Regions from separate parts of the Homo sapiens genome. Here all the other regions are linked to region 1. The links are contacts of gene promoters, found by promoter capture Hi-C in blood cells and fetal thymus (Javierre and others, 2016). All regions are on one chromosome and are shown on one strand. Each heading gives the region's core, a stretch centred on a gene start or on the middle of the fragment in contact. The rest is flanking DNA. Distances are from core to core; before and after follow the strand shown. Region 1 holds the start of BAG2 (BAG cochaperone 2). Region 2 overlaps LINC00680 (long intergenic non-protein coding RNA 680). Region 3 overlaps DST (dystonin).

What was found. Contacts are between HindIII fragments. The CHiCAGO score rates a contact against its expected background, and 5 or more counts as called.
Region 2: a fragment that was not itself captured here is called in contact with the fragment with the promoter of BAG2 in region 1 in 4 of 17 cell types (non-activated CD4 T cells, naive CD8 T cells, total CD8 T cells and 1 more); the score reaches 9.3 in non-activated CD4 T cells.
Region 3: a contact is called between a fragment that was not itself captured here and the fragment with the promoter of BAG2 in region 1, in 1 of 17 cell types (erythroblasts). The highest score is 7.0, in erythroblasts.

The regions. Positions count from the first base shown.
Region 1 is chr6:57,170,875-57,174,064 of GRCh38, forward strand. BAG2 (BAG cochaperone 2) reads left to right here and starts at 1,452. Exons shown (of 3, transcript NM_004282.4): 1 at 1,452-1,936. The coding sequence starts at 1,824. It overlaps ZNF451-AS1 (ZNF451 regulatory antisense RNA 1), which reads right to left and starts at 1,339. Exons shown (of 4, transcript NR_110742.1): 1 at 1,200-1,339; 2 at 131-224. RefSeq lists silencers at 1,465-1,544, 1,595-1,864 and an enhancer at 1,599-2,356. The HindIII fragment of the contact is 6,211 bases long and covers 1-3,190 here.
Region 2 is chr6:57,953,829-57,957,018 of GRCh38, forward strand. The region is part of intron 2 of LINC00680 (long intergenic non-protein coding RNA 680); the gene reads right to left. It also overlaps the pseudogene LINC00680-GUSBP4. Among named protein-coding and RNA genes, the nearest start is that of LINC00680, 6.0 kb to the right of the region's middle. The HindIII fragment of the contact is 2,494 bases long and covers 294-2,787 here.
Region 3 is chr6:56,511,385-56,514,574 of GRCh38, forward strand. DST (dystonin) reads right to left here. Exons shown (of 104, transcript NM_001374736.1): 73 at 1-16. Among named protein-coding and RNA genes, the nearest start is that of COL21A1, 270 kb to the left of the region's middle. The HindIII fragment of the contact is 525 bases long and covers 1,178-1,702 here.

The DNA of each region.
Region 1 (3,190 bases), core at 202-2,701:
TAAATGGTATGATCTGCCTTATTTAGGATTGCTGTAGTTGCTGCACTGAGATAACATGTACATGAGAGGCAAGAGTAGAAGCAGGGAGACCAGAGAGGAAGGTATTGTAGTATTCCAGGTGCAAACTCACCAGGTAGCTTGAACCAGAATGGTGGCGGTAGAATTGGGAAGAATCTGGATATATTCTGAAGGCAAAATTGATGGGGTTTACTAATGGTGTGGATCTAGGATAAGAGAGAAAAAGAGTTCAGGATGATTCTAAAGTCACTTGATAGACTTTCAAACCACTCACAAAATGTGTTTTGTTTTCGTTTGTGTCATGATAAAGTTATTTTTAATAAGGTCAAATAATCCCCTACCCCAAGAGTTAATTAGGATTTAAAATGAGTTCAGAGGGAATTGGGATCCAGCCTTAAGGGCTTCAACTCTGTTCAAGTATTTAAATGGCTTTGATCTCTGATTAAAGGTGGTGGCTCAGCTTTAAACTATTATTATCTATCATTTTCTGTGCCCTGTACATTGTCATCCTTGCAATGAGAGGCATAGAGCTATCAGGAGAGGGGACTAAAGCCTAACTTTTTAAGTAGACTAATCTTTGTATCCTCAGCTCTATTCCGTCTTTTACCGACAGCTGGTGCCTGACCTAGAGGCCTACTGCATCTTTTTTGTTAACAGGATTTTTAAAAGTTGAGGACTTTTTAATGCCAATTATTTCACTCAGAATATTTATTTATTTATTTATTTTTTTGAGACAAGGTCTCGCTCTATCGCCCAGGCTGGAGTGCAGTGGCGAGATCTCGGCTCGCTCAACAGGAATAATTTTAATAGCAAAAATTTAAAACCCCTTCATTAAGCCAGGCGTGGTGGTTCACATCTGTAATCCCAGCACTTTGGGAGGCTGAGGTGGGAGGACCGCTTGAACCCGGGAGGTCGAGGCTGCAGTAAGTCGTGATCGCGCCACTACACTCCAACGTGGGCGACAGTTAGACCCCATCTCAAAAACAAAAGAAAATTAGAATGGTAAAAATGAAGTAAATTCACTTTGCTTCCCACATCTAGCTAGACAGGGAAAGATGGAGTAGCTTTTTCTTTTTTACTTCATAGCTTCAGTGTTGTCCGGGCTTTCATTACTCTCATCTCAGTATAAAGTGGTAACAGGAAGGTCAGGTGAGTGTGGGCTGCCTACGAGCTGTACTTACTGCCTTCTGTTTCACAAAAGGACGTTTTCTCCCCATAATGTCGTTGTTCTTGCTTTGAATTATGGGTGCTGGGAGAAACTAAACGAAGCCGTCACTGAGCAATACACCCACAGCCCGTCGACCGATAGGAACCTTCGCGTGGGGGGAGTTGGTTACTTTTAGGTTGCATGAAGAGGCGGGGCCTCGCGGGGCGGAGCTGGGGGTGGTCTGTGGGTCCGCGCGGGCTTCGGGTAGTTCCTGGGTCCGGGGAGCAGACGATCCGCTAGCCACATTAGGCGCTCGGTCTCTGCGTCCGCCCCTCCCGTGCCTCAGAGACTTGCGCTCCCCAGGCCCGAGCCCCTGTCGGCCCATCCTCGAGCCCGTGTGGCTCGCGAACCTCTAACTCCAGCCGCTGCAGCCCCCTCCCAGGCCCGGCGTCCCCGAGCCCCGCGGGCGCCGCGCCTGCCCTTCTTTGGCTACGCTGCAGCCGCGGTGTCGGCGAGTCCTCCCGGGTTGCCCCCGCGGGCGTCAGAGGGAGGGCGGGCGCCCGCGTGGTGACGGCGACGCCTGCAGCCCAAGGAGCGCTCCACTCGCTGCCGCCGGAGGGGCCGGTGACCTCTTGGCTACCCCGCGTCGGAGGCTTAGATGGCTCAGGCGAAGATCAACGCTAAAGCCAACGAGGGGCGCTTCTGCCGCTCCTCCTCCATGGCTGACCGCTCCAGCCGCCTGCTGGAGAGCCTGGACCAGCTGGAGCTCAGGTGAGCTCCGGGCGGGCGGTCTCGGGCGTTCTGCTCGCCGCGCGGGCGGTTCGCGGGCGGTTAGCGGACGGAGGCCGCGTGTGGCGGGCCGGGGCCTGGGGCACAGTGAGGCTGCGGCAACCGAAGTTGCTTGTTGAGATTTGTTGTGGATGGACGTGGTGTAGTTTTGTTTGTTTCTTGGATTATCTCCCCTAGTCCGAGAGAAAACGCATTCGATTTAAGCTAAACCTGTGAGGGCGTTATCGGTGGCCACACTTTGATTAATTTACCTAGGTGTTAGGGAGCGGAAAAAAATCAGAGGAGATAAAAGTTACAGTGAGATTCCATGCGATTAAGGACTGTGGCAGCTTGGGTCTGCAGAACTTCTAGAACCTTCTGTGTGGCCCCAAACGTTTTAACTTACTCTTCTCGTTATGCATTTTTTAAGGGAGGCAGCAGTTTACAGTGGCCCTCCACGTGAAGTTAAGTTTCCTTGCTTCAGAACAAAAATGAATAAAACAAAACCAACCCAGCAATCCATTGAGAGCAAAGATTAGACAGGAGTGAGGGGTAGGCAGTAAGTTACCGGGTGCTTCGTGCAGCAGAGACGTTGCCGCTTCTGTTTCTCCCCTAACCTCGCGGACGGGATTCAGCGGTTCCGTTCGTCTCTCGGTATTTATTGGGCACCTCCCTACATAGAAGACTAAGTGCTAGTTACTGGCCTGAAAGCATGAAAAGATAGTTTTCCCCTTTTCTTGCTTAAGAATTTATTTGGTAATACAGTAGTAGACTTGTATAGAATTTCTAAACAATTTAATGTTAATAGATTTTTGGAAAGACTTTAACGGTGTATTGAAAAGTTTTATCTACTTCCTGTGAACGTTTGTCTCAAGTTACTGTGTAAATTTTGTGAGCAGGTGTAGTTAAAAGAAAATCTTGTTAGGCACCTGCAATTCCGTGAAACTGTACACAGGAGTTGGTTACATAGTTTTGTCTAGGTTGTGCATGAGCAAAGAAGCATGTGAGCCAAAAAGTTTAGGAAACACTGCATGTGTGTCTTTATCTTCCTACATTAATACACCCAAACATGAAGTATCTGTTTGCTGAGAAAATACTTCAATAACCACGGTATCTCTTAACAAGTGAGGCATTATTATTGTTACTATTGGGAGAAAAGAGCCAGAGAGTGAGAGATTCTCCACTCAAAATAATTTCTTGGATTATTAAGCCCTACACCAGGTTCTGGGGTTCCACTCAGAATGAGGCAAGTGGAAG
Region 2 (3,190 bases), core at 291-2,790, 780 kb after region 1:
TCCTGATCTCAGGTGACCCACCCACCTCAGGCTCCCAAAGTGCTGGGATTACAGGCGTGAGCCACCGTGCCCAGCCCAGATTGTGCCATTTTAAAACATTCTCCAAAGCAGCAAGATTTCATTTTTTAACAAGACAGTATTACAGGTCTAAATTCAATTTAATATTCTCAAAATATTACTGAGAACCTATTTTACAAAGCAAAGTACCAGGGGCTATAAAACTTACATACCCACAAATATATACATCTACTATGTACCCACAAAAATTGAAAATAAAAAAATTAAAAATAAAAAGCTTCACTTTGGGAGGTTGAGGCAGGCGGATCACTTGACTTCAAGAGTTTGAGATCAGCCTGGCCAACATGGTGAAACCCTGTCTCTACTAAAAATACAAAAGTTAGTCAGGTGGTGGTGGCACGTGCCTATAATCCCAGCTACTGGGGAGGCTGAGGCAGGAAAATTGCTTGAACCAGGAGGCAGAGGTTGCAGTGAGCCTAGATTACACTATTGCCCTCCAGTCTGGGCAACTCAAAAAAATAAATAAGTAAATAACAACAAAAAGCCGACATAGCCAAATAAGACAATCCTTGTTCAAAACATGTTGTATTATATGCTTAAAATGGCAAATACAAGGTACCTATACTGTGATAGTACAAACATTCACTAAATTGTTTAAAACATTTGTAAATGCCTCAGATAGCATGTCTTTGTCTATCGTTTGAGGATATTAAAATTGTTTTTTGATGTGATGATATTGTGGCATAATATGAAATATATTTGGCCAGGTGCGGTGGCTCACTCCTGTAATCCCAGCACTTTGGGAGGCTGAGGGGGGCGGATCATGAGGGCAGGAGATCGAGACCATCCTGGCTAACAGGGTGAAACCCTGTCTCTACTAAAAATACAAAAAAAAAAAAAAAAAATTAGCCAGGCATGGTGCCCGGTGCCTATAGTCCCAGCTACTCAGGAGGCTGAGACAGGAGAATGGCGTGCACCCGGGAGGCGGAGCTTGCAGTGAGTCGAGATCACACCACTGCACTCCAGTCTGGGCGACAGAGCGAGACTCTGTCTCAAAAATATATATATATATTTGGTCTTTGTTTCAGGTTCCTGCCACACAGCTTCTGAAACCCTTGGAATTTCCTGAGTGATAGGAGCTGTCTTTTGTTATTCATTAGAAGCCCCTTTGGATCCCACCTAAATTTATGCTATTGAAGTGACTTAGTGTGGGATCCCTAGGCCTCAGGATGGGACTGCTGCTCACTAAAAAAACTGACGGGTTAGATAATTGGAACTTTCATCCCCACCCACCAATCTCTGGGGAAGCTGGAAATTAAGATCTATAGAAATTTTTTTTTTTTTTTTTTTTTTGAGACAGGCTCTTGCTTTTTTACTCAGGCTGTGATGCAGTGGCATGATCATAGCTCACTGCAGCCTCAACCTCTGGGCTCAAGTGACCCTCTCACCTCAGCCTCCCAAGTAGTTGGGACTACAGGTGTGCGCCGCCATGCCCAGCTAATTTTTATAAGATTTTTTGAACGGGATCTCACTGTGTTAGCCCAGGTTTGTCTCAAACTCCTGGGATCAAGTGATCCTCCTACCTTGGTCCCCCAAAGTGCTGGGATTATAGGTGTGAGCCACTGCACCCAGCCTAGACACTCCTGAACCACTAGATGTGATTAGCTTCAGGGTAGTTGAACACAGGGGGATGCTGGGGAGTTGGTGCACCCAGAGAGGGCACAGAAGCTCTGCACCTCTCCCACCGCATACCTTGCCCAATGCATTACTTCATCTGGCTGTTCATCTGTATCATTTATAATATTCTTTATAATAAACTGTTAAACATAAGTAAAGTGTTTCCCTGTGAGCCGTCCTAGCTAATTATCAAAGCAAAAAGAGTGGTCATGGGAACCCTGACTTATAGCCAGTAGATTAGAAGCACTGGTCACAACCTGTGAATTGAGATTAGTGTCTGAGTGAAGGCAGTCTTGTGGTAGTCTCCAGGCAGACGGTGTCAGAATTAAAGTGAGTTACCGGATACCCAGTTGGAGAACTGGTTGATGTGTGGGGGAAAACTCCTACATATCTGGTGTCAGAAATAAAGTACTGGTTCACACCTGTAATCCTAGCACTTTGGGAGGCCAAGACAGGTGGATCACTTGAGCCCAGGAATTCAAGACTGGCCTGGACAACATGGTGAATTTTTTTTTTTTTTTTTGAGACAAGAGTCTCACTCTGTCGCCCAGGCTAGAGTGCAGTGGCAAGATCTCGGCTCACTGCAAGCTCTGCCTCTGGGGTTCACGCCATTCTCCCGCCTCAGCCTCCCAAGTAGCTGGAACTATAGGCACCCGCCACCACACCCAGCTAATTTTTTGTATTTTTAGTAGAGACGGGGTTTCACCATGTTAGCCAGGATGGTCTCAATCTCCTGACCTCGTGATCCGCCCCTCCCAAAGTGCTGGGATTACAGGCATGAGCCACCTCACCCAGCCAACATGGTGAAATCTATCTCAACTAAAAATACAAAAAATTAGTGGGGTGTGGTAGCACCAACCTATAGTCCCAACTATTTGGGAGGCTGAGGTGGGAGGATTACCTGAGCCCGGGAAGTGGAGTCTGTAGTGAGGCAAGGTCATGCCACTGCGCACCTGTCTAAGCAACAGCAGTGAGACCCTGTCTCAAATTTAAAAAAAAAAAAAAAAAAAAAAGGAGGGGAAAGTACTGAGAGGAGTGTGAGAGGATAGGAAACAACTTGGTTTTTCCTATCTCTTACACATATCTTGGCTAAGCTTTTTTTAAAACAATCCTTATCGTTTTAAGGTATATACAAAAATATTTATGAGTAAAATGATGTCCAAGATTTGCTTCGAAATCATCTGAAAGGGGAAACAGAAGTAACGCTAGCCATGAACTGTTACAGTAGTTAAATCTGATTGATAGGTACATGGTAGTTCGTGACTATACTTCCGTGTTTGAAATTTCACATAATAATGAAGGGTTTTGCTGGGTGCAGTGGCTCACACCTGTAATCCCAGCATTTTGGGAGGCCAAGGTGAGTGGATCACGAGGTCAGGAGATCGAGACCATCCTGGCTAACATGGTGAAACACCATCTCTACTAAAAATACAAAAACAAAATTAGCCAGGCGTGTTGGCAGGCACCTGTAGTCCCAGCTACTCCAGAGGCTGAG
Region 3 (3,190 bases), core at 190-2,689, 660 kb before region 1:
TCAACTCACGCAGTTGCTATAACAAACCAAACAGCTTTTCAGTATCTCAGGGTCACACCTCCATATTACAGCTGTCTACACCTGCAATGCATCCAGCTGGCAAGAAACTCCAAACAAACCCCTCCCCATCACAAGGCATTTAACACATGATGGCTCATACAGCTCTTTGCCAGGAAGAGAAGGTCCTGACACAAAGATTAAACAACAGTCTGGTCACACCAAAGACCCTTTAGGGTACAAAGATGCTGGTTCAGTGAAATAATGAATCCCAGTTTATTATGCATCTCATACCAAGAGTAGCACATTTTGACAAGAGCATTAGCCTAGGGTCATATTATATAAAAGTATTCTGAACTCGCTATGTCCCCAACCTACAGACACCAAGTCATATCTGATGGTGTTCCTTTCTGCACACTCATGATATATACAAAAATAGAAGAAAGAAAAAGAGAGAGAGAGAGAGACAAGACGGGGGGAAGGAGGGAGAAGGGAAGGAAGAAAAAAGAATAGAAAGAAGCTCAATATAAGTTAGATGCAATGCTGAGACAAAACCTCAAGATAAGGAATGTTAGGGTGATGTAAGCCCACAAGGCATTGCATTTATATATGCGGACTGATATAAAATGAATGAACATGTATTACATTTTATATTTATGTATGAATCTATTCTATATATATATGATATATAGACACACATATGAATGAATCTATATTCATTATTTTAAAATATTAAAGGCTGCAAGGGCAATCTATCAATACACAGCTATATACTGAGCATTGTTTGTAAGGTATATTTAAGGAAAAACACATGTCATATGAATGTGCATAATTTTGCTAGCTAATCAAGAAATACAATGATATTTATACTAGTGCGTGGGTGTAGAATTCAAGTGGATCCCCATTCCCTTTAATAGAGAAGATGTGTTGGAAGCCTGAATAAAGCTAGAATACATACACCTCATGGATCCCATGGATTTCAATGAGCAGTTTTTCATGGGTCAAAACCAAAGCCACCCCCAGGGGGAAGATCTGCCTTTGCTTGCAGGTTTTTCTGAGGCTGGCCTCTGTGCAGCATTGAGGGGTCTTTCATTTGCACCACATTATTGATTAGGTTCCCTCATCAGCAGCTCTTTGTCCTCACCAGAATGTGTATCTCCAAACTCCAGCCCCTCACAAAAGCTTCTCTGGGGAATCTTACTTTCAGGAAAGATGGTCTAGAGATAAGCTACCAATCTTTTCCTGCAAACTCTAATTTCTATCAGTCACCAGGATGGCCACATACCTAGATTTTTATTGAAAGTGTCTACTAAAATCAATTATGAGCATTATTTTGAGAACCTGTTGAGGAATTACATCATTAACTATCACCAATGTAATAAAATGTTTTTGAAGGTTTTCAAAAGACTGCCTCAAAATAGTTTTAGAAAGGGCTAAATAAAGATGAATTCAATTTTAAAAGAAGGAAGAGTCTAATATAGCATGCTGCACATAAGAATGTGGGAGGGCCATGTTTGCAATCTAGCTCCTGGGCGTCCCAGGCCAAGTTTTTATTTTTATTTGGCATAATTAGGTATCTTCATGCTGCTTTACCGAATGGAGGTGGTGATGGTATATCAGCTATAGATAATCTCATGGAAAAGGAAAACTGAAGATGTTACATACGTTCTCCTGTCAATGTTCTTTCAGGAATGCTTGGAAAACAAGCTTTCACTCAAGAGTTATCAAGAGACTCTCAAATAAAATGCTACATCTCTGCTGATATTTCTGGAGTTCCTTTGGGTCTAGGTAGATCTCACCTGTATAGCATCACTATAAGGCAACTTGGCTTGGCAAGTAGTGAGAGGAGCCTTTTTTTTTTTTTTTAAGACAGAGTTTTGCTCTTGTTGCCCAGGCTGGAGTGCCGTGGCACGATCTTGGCTCACCACAACCTCCGCCTCCCAGGTTCAAGTGATTCTCCTGCCTCAGCATGCCAAGTAGCTGGGATTATAGGTATGCACCACCATGCCCAACTGATTTTGTATTTTTAGTAGAGATGGGGTTTCTCCATGTTGGTCAGGCTGGTCTCGAATTCCTGACCTCAGGTGGTCCACCTGCCTCGGCCTCCCAAACTGCTGGGATTACAGGCGTGAGTCACCACATCTGACTAATTTTGTATTTTTAGTAGAGGCAGGGTTTCTCCATGTTGGTCAGGCTGGTCTCAAACTCCCGACCTCAGGTGATCCACCTGCCTCGGCCTCCCAAAGTGCTGGGATTACAGGCATGAGCCACTGTGCCTGGCCGAGGAGCCTTTTTTAAACCCTTCTTAAACCATTCCATGACAGGCAAGAGAACACCTACCAGCCATCTACTCAGGTATGTGTGTGTATCAGAAAAGGGCCCAAAAGGAGATGCCTTTTGCCTTATATGTGACAAAATGATTCTTGGCACATGCTGTCATAGGAGTCCAGTCATGCTGGAGCTATCTGGTGTGACTTGATATCTATCATGTGGTAACATGGCCCTTGGAGCCATTTTTCATTCCTGGCTAGAATGAACTAGATTTTCCCCCAAAATACATGGAGAAGATGCTGTAGAGCTGGAAAAGAAATGCCATCCTAGGAGGCTACAAATATTCTGCAACAGCAAAGCTTTTAGTTTAAACAATTTGAAGATGTGGCTACAAAGTTTTGTACCTCCCTTTATACAGACAATCACAAATTTGTTTTGAGAGCTTAAAGATTATGCAAAAAGGCAAAAAAACTCAATTTTTAAAATTTCAGCTCAATAATGAGCCTTTCCATACTATTTGATGCTATGCTAAAAATGTGGCTATTCAAATCACCTCAGCATAGAAATCCATGAAACATTTTTCATTTAAAATAATTCAGTAAGTAGATATCAGATTTCTGCCACAAATAAATCTTTATACAAAAATTGAATTCTACATACTTGTCTTTCTCCTGCTGAATCATTTAGATAGAACTCCATAAGATTCCTGTTCTATATTAAATAAAGTTAAAGTGTGGTCTCTAAAACTCTCTTTTAAATAAATACTTCAGTATAGTCTTCAATGCCAATTCATTAAAAAGGTAAACAAACAAGATTAACAAGATGTCACATATTCCAAACAATGATGTAATAAACCCTGAATTGAACTTTTCCCTCCCTTTCTCTCTCTCCCTCTCTCCCTCCTTCTCTCTTGGGCACAGGC